Linked DNA regions of Homo sapiens: regions 2 and 3 are each linked to region 1. Evidence: promoter capture Hi-C in 16 types of primary human blood cells and fetal thymus (Javierre and others, 2016). All regions are on one chromosome and are shown on one strand. The core of a region is centred on a gene start or on the middle of the fragment in contact, and the rest is flanking DNA. Distances in the headings are between cores, read along the strand shown. Region 1 holds the start of SERGEF (secretion regulating guanine nucleotide exchange factor). Region 2 has its middle 3.9 kb from the start of KCNC1. Region 3 holds the start of LDHAL6A (lactate dehydrogenase A like 6A).

Region 1 (3,619 bases), core at 178-2,677:
AAAAACACACTACCAGTCCTCCAAACACAGCAGAAGGGTGTCAACAACCTATTAAACATATTTTACAACCTTTAATATTCGGCTTTGTCTGTACTGAAACAATATTTCTGTTTCCTCTGTCCACACAGACGCCAGTCTCCTGCCTGGAAAAAGCCAGAGACAGCACACATTCAATCCCCAACTCCACCCCCAGCTCCCGGGCCACCTCAAAGACGCCCAGCCAGCCAGACTACCGCAGGTCACGCCATGCTCTCCCTCCTGCCAAATTGCAGCCCCACATTCAACAATTGCCGCCTTGTACTGATCATTACTTCTTTAAAAATTGGACAACTAATACTGATTTTAACAGCAATACAGGTTATAATTTTGCTCTCCCCCAACACAAGAGCTGGAAGTCCTTCACTCGTGTATTTCACTCATGTGTATTTCCCCAACACCAGCACATGGGTAGGCACACAGATGCTCGTTCATTCATTCGTCAACGAGTATTTACTGGGGACCTACAATGTGCCAGACACCAAGAGAGGCACCGTGAACAAGACAGGCACAGCACCCACTCTTACCACACTTACTTTCCAGCCAGAGAGACTGACGTTAATAATAAATTATACACATCATTACAATTGTGATACGTGCTATGAAGAAGCACAAGACGCAGCGACTGCTTGTTCCCGTGCATGCTGGTCGGCCACCTGCCACGCTCCTGTGCATGAACCCTCCTCTCTCCCAGACACACATCAAGATGACCCTGTCTCTCCCAATGCTCCCGTCAAACCAACAGCAGCCCAACTCCCCCAACACATGCAAGAACCGGTCACAGCAGAGTGTCAGCAAATAGGCAGGGTCTGTGCCTTGTGCGCGGCCAAACACCGCAGGCCTCACATCTAAAGGATGCTTTCGCCAGGCTGGGACAGGGTCTCCCTCCTCCAGGCATCAGGAGTGTGGGGGGCACAGGTGGCCCCACGGAGCTCTGGGACCGGGCGATCCTCTCCACCGAGCCCTCCGCGCTGTCTTCCAGGCGCTATTCGGGCTGGAGGGCTCTCGCGGAACCAGACGCTCTGCCCCGAGGCAGGTTCTTCCCGCGGCGCCACAGCCCCTCCGGCCCTGACCCCGCCAGCCGGCAGGCCCCTAAGTCGACCGCGAAGACCCTTCCTTCCCCGCCCGCCCGCTCCTCCTCCGCTCCCCCTCCGCTCCCAGCCCAGGATCCTTCAACCCAGAGCCCGGCTCGGACCTCAGCCGCCCAGCCCCTGAACTGCCCACGCCGCGGCCAGCAGCTCCCACATCTCGGCGCCCCTCAGGGCCTGCACCGGCCCGGGGGCGGAGTCACGTACCCAGGCGAAGAGCGCGGCCGCCGCGGGGGCGGCCTCCGAGGCGCTGGGCTCGCGCTCCATGCGAGGACGCTCCGCCGGCGCTTCCGGGAGGGACGGCACGGGGGCGGCGCCTGCCGGGGGTAGGTGAGCGCCGGAGCCGGACCGGGGACGCGTGATGGGTAGGGCGCGGGGCGGGGTCTGTGGTGGGAAGCGGCCCGCAGGCCGGGAGAGAGGGTGCGGCCGGGCCCTCGGGCCACTGGGGATCAGTGGTGGGCGGGGCCGGACGACAGCCCCGGAGCCGCCTCCCAGTCAGCCCGCCCCGGCGGCGCTCGCAGCGTCTCCGCCCGCAGCCTCCTGTCTCGCTGGGCCTCTCAGCCTCTCGCTCCTACCCCCTCGTACTCTTTATTTTTAGTCATAATTTCATGTTTCATGCAGGTGCACTGCGCGCCACAGTTCACAAAGCTCCTTCGCGTTTTTGTCTCCTTGGAGGCCCACGACAGCCCAGAGGGGCTGACAGGGCAGCGATGGCATCACCATTTGCGGGAACAGGAAATGGAGCCTGAGGGGTAGGGCAGGGTCCTGCCCGGCGTCTCAGGCGCAATTGTCTTGAGCCCGCTTTGGTGTGCGTTCGCAAACATCTGAGGGGGCGCCTTGGGAGGCGAGTGGAGTGGCACGTCGCCGGTGTCGCCCTCTGCACCTGGCACGGAGCGGGAACCCGCGCCTCGCGACGCTGAATGGGGGAGGCTGGTTAGCGTCGACTCCTGCCGGGGCAGCCTCGGCGCTCCGGGCACGGCCCTGAGCTCATTCTATTAATAATACTGGATAATCGTCACCCAACGAACATTTCCATATAAAATGGCTTTTCTCAGACAGCGTCGTGTTGCTGATGGGAGTTAATTAAGTTCAATTTATCTGAAGGAAAATATGGCACCGCGTACCGGGAATACAGAACACATAGGGTCACATTAAAGATGATCATCCACATTCACATTCGGTAGCACTTGGCCCCTCTGCTGACACGGGCCTCCAGCACTCACTGCCCTTCACCCCTGGGCTTCTGGGAAGTGTCTCCAATGAGCTCTTACACTGTCCTTTCCTGTTCTTTCACTCCATCCACTTTTAGGAGTTTCTGCCTGTAAGACCACTTGAGGGCAGCCCCTCACCTTTATCTCTCCAACCTGTGGCATCTGGAGAACGTCGATGACCATACCAAGAAAAAAGCAAACTTTGGAGAGATAAAACAGCTCTTCATTCTCTAGGGATCTGAATGTGCAGGAGCTATACCATGCTTACTGACTGTCTTATGAGTGGGCTTTTTTGTGCTGACCATTTCTTTGAAGCATGTGTAACAGGATGTAAAAATGGGATCCTTCACCGCTCAGTTTTGGCTGAGCAACAAGTGCCAGTTACTCCTATATCATAAAGTAAGGTTCAAGACCACCAAAGCAGGTCTTGCAAAGCAACTGTCTAGAAACCAGTGTATGACTTTCAGTCTACGAAAAAGGTTGAGAGGCCAGAGAGAATTCTAGTAGGATATGTGGCCACAATTATCAATGTGGTGTGGGTCTCAACCCATCTCAGGTCTAAGGAAAGTTACTTTACCTGGGTCCCTGAGAGAGCTTGGTATGCATCCCTCTAGATTTAGGACCCAGACAGGCTTCTGTCCAATCCGTTCTGAGAAATACAAGGGCTTGTGGCTGGATATCTGCTCTAATAGCTGAGCAAAGACAAACTGATGCTTTGGGGAGGTCTTTCACACCCACAGTTTTTCAAAATAAAAACTGTCCATTTCCCATGTGAGTATTTCCCATACCTGAGCAAACTGGCTGGGGGATGGTCTTAGACCTTGTCCAAGAGAATTTCTGGAAGGGTGAAGTGACACCCACAGGACAGTCGATCACTAGATTCCTTGAGGGTGAGGGAAATGAATTTAACAGCCCAGAGAGATACATTTACCTACATCAAGAAATCCCAAGAAATAAGAAGGTGGGAAGGTCTTCCAAAATGCCCACAAGAAAATGTCAGCATGTAATATTTACAAAGTACAGAAAGCACTGATGACAATTCACAACAGTATCAGACCAAAAAGAACTTTTCTCCTCCTTACCTCTCCTCCCCTCTACATCTCCCCAACCCTGGAGGAGTCCCAGGCATCCACTGAGTAACAAGAGACAAGGAAATTAAGAAACTAAGCACACCCACTCCTTTCTCAGTTCTGGAGGAGGAAAAAAGCTTCAACCTTAAAGTTTGTTTTATCAAAGTTTTTCCACAGGACTAGCCTTTTTAAATATTGAAATGAGAAAGAGAGA
Region 2 (3,472 bases), core at 195-2,694, 280 kb before region 1:
TTGCGTATGAATATATAGTTGTTTCAGCATCATTTATTGAAATGACGATTCTTTCTCCATTGAATTGTCTTGGCACTCTTGTCAAAAATTAATTGACCATAAATATATGAGTTTATTTCTGTACTCTCAATTCTATTCCATTGATCTATCTATCTATCCTTATGCCAATACCACACAGTCTTGATTATTGTAGTGTGGTAGTTAGTTTTGAAATTGGGAAGCGTGAGTCCTCCAGCTTTACTCTCCTTCTTCAATACTGTTGTGAGTTTTCTGGGTCCCTTGCATTTCATAATGTATCTTTAAGTAGTCCTGTCCAGGAGGTGTTTTCAGTAGCTACTAACTGTGCCTGGTACTACCCGGGACCTATAAATTGGCATAGAAATGTAAAGCAGGGTCTTGTTAGTACACAGAAAAAAATAGTTATATTGGAGGGAAGGTGATGATTTTTTAATTTCCAGTCATCTTCGATGTAGCTTATGTAAAATAAATGTATTAACTAAATATTATTCTGTAATTGCAAAAAAAGTTGCATCTGTTTTTGTTGGCATACTGAATGCTTCCAAATAAATGTAACTTATTTTAAATCATTATATAGGTGTGCCGTGCAGTTAATAAAAATATGAAGCTTTTTTCTGTATTTTTAAATATTTGTAGTATATGTCAGCTTCTTAAAATTTATATTTGGTCTTGAGTCCTTTTCTAAGTCTAAATAAATATTCACTTTTGTATCCAACTTTGTATTCTTTTTTGCTTTCTTTTTTTAAAAGAGTGACCCCCAAAACTTCCAGGCTTCAGGCCCTACACACCCTGGACCCACCTCTGCATACTGACCATGCTCACCTGCAGGCTGACACATCCACAGGTGTACATACAAGAGAACTTGCCAGGCTCTCCCTATCAGAGGAGCCGCAGAGGGAAGACCTTTAGGGTAGCCACGAGTCTCCAGCTGCTTCTGGGAGGAGAACTCAGTGTCCTCTGCACAGTCCTGCTGTGAACATGCTTGCAGGAGGGCCTGTACCCACCCAGCCTCCTTACATATATGCACACCTGACCATGTTCACCACAGCCATCATCTCATCTCACACTTCCGCACCTCCCTCCCACAGCCTGCAGGGAGAGGCATCCAGGCCCAGGGAGGGCTAATGCTCTGTCCCCAGGGCCACACTGACACCCTAAGGGACATTGCTGAAGGATGGTAGGAGTCCATGAGGGGGAGGGGGTGTAAGGGCTGGTCACAGAGGGATGAGAAGTGGGCTAGGGAGCCCGAGGGAAGGGAGAAAAGGGAAGAAGAGGAAATGAGGTACCATGTCATTTAATCCTTACCAGACATTGGTCCCTTTATGGATAATGAGGAAATAGAAGCCTAGAGAGGGAATGGGACTAGTTGACGCAGCTAGTGAATAGCAAAAATGGGATTTGTAACCAAGTCTGTCTACATCAGTGGTTCTCTCAACCGGAAGAAATTTTACCTCCCAGGGTACATTTGGCAGTGTCTGTAGACCTTTTTGGTGATCACTGCTAGGGAAGAGGCTTCTACCGACACCTAGTGGACAGAGGCCTGCTAAATATCCTGCAATGCACAGTACAGCACCCGGCCCCAACCCTGGCAAAGGATTACATCTGAGCCAAGATGTCAACAGTGCAGAAGTTGAGAAACCCTGGTCTAGACACCTTCCAAGAGTATTCTTCACCTTGGCCCCTTTCTGGACTTCCCATGGCCTAAGCCATGTTGGTGCCCCTGCCCCAGAGTTTCCAAGAAGGAACAGCTAGCTGTATACCTCGCTGCAGCTCAGCCCAGGTTACCAGGGTCACTGCTCAACCTACAGATCTGTGGCCAAGGTCGCCAATTTCCCACTACGGCATCTCTGGATTCAATCTTCCCTGACCATTGGAGGCAGGCGGTATGGTCTAGGGAGGGGATGTCTGCCACCCCCACGGCTTACCATCAGAGCAGGGTTACTATCCTCAAAGCCTTCTCGGTCAATACCCAGCTTAGGTTAGTTCCCAGCCATGGCCACAAGATGGCACCCCAGCCCACCAGGAGGGCTGAGGCTCTGGGCCTGGGAGAGCAGCATGGAGGATGTGCCAACCTGGACAAAAGCCTAGGGGCTGGACTTGGGCCAGTTCCAGAGCTTAGCAGGACCAGATCTAAGGCCTGCAAGTGCCAGGTGGGAAAACATAGGCCAAACTTGGCTTCAGAACTCCCTTCACCTTTTTTTTAGTCCACTCCCAACACCAGCTTATATTCTAGCCTTTCCTACATGAAGCTTACTGAAGCCCAGCAATCCCTCCTTGGGCCTAAACAAGAGAAATTCTAGAACTTAGATGTTAAGGATACAGGAGTTATTATTATTATTTCAATACAACAGTAAAAGCAAAAAACGAGGCACAGAGAAGTTGAGTAACTTGCCCAAGGTCACAGCTAGTCAGTACTGGAGCTGGGATTTGAATCCAGGCAGTCTGGTTTTAAAGTCTGTGCTCTTAGCCACTGAACATACCACACCACAACTGCTCCCACCCCCACCAGCCCCAGCTACCAAAGACCCTCTGGCACCAGACCACAAGCTTTCTTCTGCAAGGGAGGGGCAAATGGCTGCGAATAGGAGGTGCTGCTCCAAAGTGGAAAAGGAGTGAGGTTTTCAGTCTAGCTGGGGGTCTGTCGTTAGTGTTTGCGAGTGAGAAGCTAGGGAATGGTTAGTCATTCTTCCTCCTATTTCCCCCCAAAACCCTCTGTTTCTCTGTTTTCTGGTTTTTGGTTTTTGTTGATTTCTTCTGTGTTGCCCTCTTGGTTTTCCTAGGCTGTTTGCAAATGCTAGCATTCTCGCAGTGTGAAGGGGAAGTGAGAGAAGAAAGTTTGATGTCCTGTTCAGGATCCACAAGGGAGGCCATTCTTTGGGGCCTGGGCTGGGGGTGTGTCATCAGGGATCAAAGTGAGAATCCTAAAGTGGAACAGTGTGGGGCACATTGGGAACAGCTACCCTCTCCTGCTGGGGAGGCTCCTGTGTCTGAGTTTTCTCTGCTTACCTCTTGGGGGATTTTAGGGTGTAATGGGCTTTAGGGTGCAATGAATACCCTTTCACATTCCTTCTGCCTCCAACCCTGGCCTACCTCCCTCTTTCTAACACATCGTCCAGAGCCCCTAATCACCCAACCTTCTGCCTACCAGGAGCCCCTTGTTTCTCTCTGTCTCTCTGTGCCCCCTCCCCAACTGCCTGGGTCACACTGCAGCCCCCTATTAGGACTCGCCATGGCGTAGTGATGGGGCCCTGCACTGATTCCCTAAAAAACCCTGGGTAAGTCCCTCCTCCTGACTTGGTCTCCATTAGGTGTTCCAGACTCCCACAGTCTCTGCCACTTGGGTTCTAGGATCCCAGCCTCTCTCCTAGCCTTTCTCAAATCATCTGGACCTTAGTGAGGATCTACTGTATTCTGGGCACTCTGGAGGGAAGCAAACAAGAAGCCCTGGAGGAGC
Region 3 (3,236 bases), core at 268-2,767, 440 kb after region 1:
AATCACAAGGTGAGGTCCCACAACAATAGGCCGTCTGCAAGCTGAGAAGCAAGAAAGTCAGTCGGAGTTCCAAAGCTGAAGAACTAGGAGTCCAATGTTTGAGGGCAGGAAGCATCCAGCACAGGAGAAAGATGAAGGCTGGAAGACTTAGCCAGTCTAGTCCCTCCACGTTCCTCTGCCTGCTTTTATCCTAGACGTGCTGGCAGCTGACTAGATGGTGCTCACCCGGATAGAGGGTGGGTTTGCGTCTTCTAGCCTACTGACTCAAATGTTAATTTCCTGTGGCAACACCCTCACAGACACACCCAGGTTCAACACTTTGCATCCTTCAATCCAATCAAGTTGACACTCAGTATTAACCATCAAAATTACGTATTATGATTCACAAATGAGAAAACAATTAGGTAAAATGTGGTGGGAGAAGTAGAAACCTTGGTTTATTCCAGACTGATTTTCAATTCTACATTTTTGTTTTTTATTTTTGAGACGGAGTCTCACTCTGTCACCCAGGCTGGAGGGCAGTGGCATGATCTCGGCTCACCAAAACCTCCGCCTCCCGGGTTCAAACGATTCTCCTGCCCCAGCCTCCTGAGTAGCTGGGATTACAGGTGCGTGCCACCACACCCGGCTAATTTTTGTATTTTTAGTAGAGACGGGGTTTCGCCATGTTGGCCAGGCTGGTCTCGAACTCCTGACCTCAGCTAATCCACCCGCCTCGGCCTCCCAAAGTGTGGATTCTACATTTAACCACTTAATAATGAATTGAGCTTTCCCTTCATCTTGTAAAAATGGTTATCAATTGGCACTGCATTCATCAAATTCTTCAGGTTTCATATCTTATTTCCAAATTCCTTTTGCATACAGAGTTTTGTTGTTGTTTTGAGACAGGGTCTCACTCCGTCACCCAGGCTGGAGTGCAGTGGCACAATTTCGGCTTACTGCAACCTCCGCCTCCCAGGTTCACAAACAATTCTTGTGCTTCAGCCTCCCAGGTAGCTGGGATTACAGGGGTGCACCACCACGTCCAGCTAATTTTTGTATTTTTAGTAGAAACGTGGTTTCACGATGTTGGCCAGGCTGATTTCGAACCCCTGACCTCAGGTGATCCGCCCGCCTTGGCCTTCCAGAGTGCTGGGATTACAGGCGTGAGCCACCACGCTCGGCCCAGAGTTTTAAAATTTTACTTTTTCTACTTTAGCTCACATTTGAGGTGGTAAAAGTTAATCTTGAGGTCCCTTTCTCCTACAGGGCTGGGGGAAAATTTTCACGTGAGAGTCAAACAGTCCTTTTCAGATACATCCAGACAAGGTTTGGTTAGAAATAAAATTACTTGGGCTCTCTGGTGGATGGGTTCTAGGCAAACAACTCCGCCCAACAGCAGAGGCCCTGCACTGCGTTGTGCCTGCAGCACCTCGTGCGCCTTCTGCAGCCGGCCAACCACCTACACCGCAGCCCGCCCACCCGCACGCGGGGGCGGGGCGGGCAGGCAGAGGCGCAGGCGCGGTGCTTCGCAGCCCGCTTCCGGCCTCACACCTGCCAAGCATCACACCTGCCAAGCATCACACCTGCCAAGCATCACACCTGCCAAGCATCACACCTGCGATGCCTGCACGAGCTGGGTGCGGTCCGCGCAGCTGCAGTAAGGGGGCGACCCGGCGTCTGTTAGTCGGCGGTTCATCTCCTTCGTGCCTCGATGAGCTTTAACGCCATTTTCCTCCATTCTCTTTCTTCACCTCTTGAGTGAGTGGCCATGAGCTGGGCTGCAAGAGTCCTGGGGAGCAGCCAGAGAGCGGGCGCCGCGGGAGCGAATTGTTTTTGCCCAAGGATGGTTCTGTGTCTCCGCCAGGCGGCATGTGACCTGCTCGGGCGCGGGTGGCCCTTCACCCCTGTGAGTGTGGCCAGAAGTACCTCTCACCTGGACCTGCGGACCCCGGGCGCAGTCCTGGAGCTGAGAACTGGAGGTTGGGGGAACAGCAGGGTAAAGGGGAGAGAAAAGGGGGTCAGCTGCGGGACGGAGTGCCGTCCCAGCTGTAGTTTCATGTTTGGTGGAGCAACCCCTGTTCCTTTCCTCTCTCTCTCTCTTAATTCCTCTTAACTGTACTCACGCTTCCTTCTCCTTCCCCTGGTCCGCTTCATGGATGCTGAGCTGCCTGGCCAGAACCTACCCAGCTTCTTTGCTGGTCAGATTTGTCGGTCTTTTGTGTGTCTGCAGCACCTCCTTCCACACGGGCCCAGGAGTTCTCTATACGCGCTCTCACCGCAGGTCTTGGAATTCCAAGCCATTTCCAATTCCAGGTCTTGGAAATGGCTGTGCAATTTGTCTTCACTGTTAGGTTTCCAAGATGGCAACTATCAAGAGTGAACTTATTAAGAATTTCGCGGAAGAGGAGGCCATTCATCACAATAAGATCTCCATTGTAGGAACTGGATCGGTTGGTGTGGCTTGTGCTATCAGCATCTTATTAAAAGTAAGTTGTGTGCTCTGCACCACAGGGTTCACCTCAGTTGGAGGCGAGGCCACAGCGTATGGTTGTGGAGGTTGTGTCCAGTTCAAGGTGGTGAGTGGGGAGCCAGTGTGAGGGGCATCAGAGGAAAAGGTGCCCTTTTTTTAGTTGTTCACCCAGAGGGCGCTCCTTTTTAAAAATTGTATGATGATATCATGTGGGTTAGAAGCATCTCTGTGAAAGTATGTTGACATTTCACTTTCACGTAATGACAATATGAGGTACCCCTTTGCTTGATTTGGAAACTCAGCTCACAAAACAAACTGGAGAGAAATAGGTGGCAGAAAAGAGTATACAAGCGTGTCAGTGATGGTAGGCAGCCTACGAGTACCAAATACAATAATCTTTTTTCATTTAAATATCTCTCTCCCATTTCCTAGTCTGTATATCTTTATTTCCCTTCGTTCCTTATTCATGTTAGGTTAGTTTTAGTGTTTAGCTGTTCTTAGTATTGATACAGCTGATAAAGTTTTATGGCTATAGACAGAGGCCAAAAAAAGATTCTGACCCCTTTCTAAGAATATTACCCTGATATGAACTTTATTACCATAAAGTTTTAATAAATCATAAGACACTCTGAGCTATACTTTTATTAATGAAATATCTGTAAAATGTTTTAGCCATCTTTTATATAACCTTTAATCCTGGCATGAGTCATTGGATTTAAAGGATTGCCTCTGGGTTTCATATCTAGATGACATAGTGACCTTATGGCACTAAGGACAGCAGCCA

What was found. Contacts are between HindIII fragments. The CHiCAGO score rates a contact against its expected background, and 5 or more counts as called.
Region 2: a contact is called between a fragment that was not itself captured here and the fragment with the promoter of SERGEF in region 1, in 1 of 17 cell types (M2 macrophages). The highest score is 5.1, in M2 macrophages.
Region 3: a contact is called between the fragment with the promoter of LDHAL6A here and the fragment with the promoter of SERGEF in region 1, in 4 of 17 cell types (M1 macrophages, M0 macrophages, total CD4 T cells and 1 more). The highest score is 6.3, in M1 macrophages.

Annotation. Positions count from the first base shown.
Region 1 is chr11:18,011,620-18,015,238 of GRCh38, forward strand. It overlaps SERGEF (secretion regulating guanine nucleotide exchange factor), which reads right to left and starts at 1,428. Exons shown (of 11, transcript NM_012139.4): 1 at 1,332-1,428. The coding sequence starts at 1,391. RefSeq lists enhancers at 1-220, 221-737, 2,096-2,145 and a silencer at 1,096-1,715. The HindIII fragment of the contact is 12,002 bases long and covers 1-3,540 here.
Region 2 is chr11:17,729,188-17,732,659 of GRCh38, forward strand. No RefSeq gene overlaps it. Among named protein-coding and RNA genes, the nearest start is that of KCNC1, 3.9 kb to the right of the region's middle. The HindIII fragment of the contact is 1,642 bases long and covers 624-2,265 here.
Region 3 is chr11:18,454,339-18,457,574 of GRCh38, forward strand. It overlaps LDHAL6A (lactate dehydrogenase A like 6A), which reads left to right and starts at 1,518. Exons shown (of 7, transcript NM_144972.5): 1 at 1,518-2,468. The coding sequence starts at 2,343. The HindIII fragment of the contact is 8,824 bases long and covers 1-3,236 here.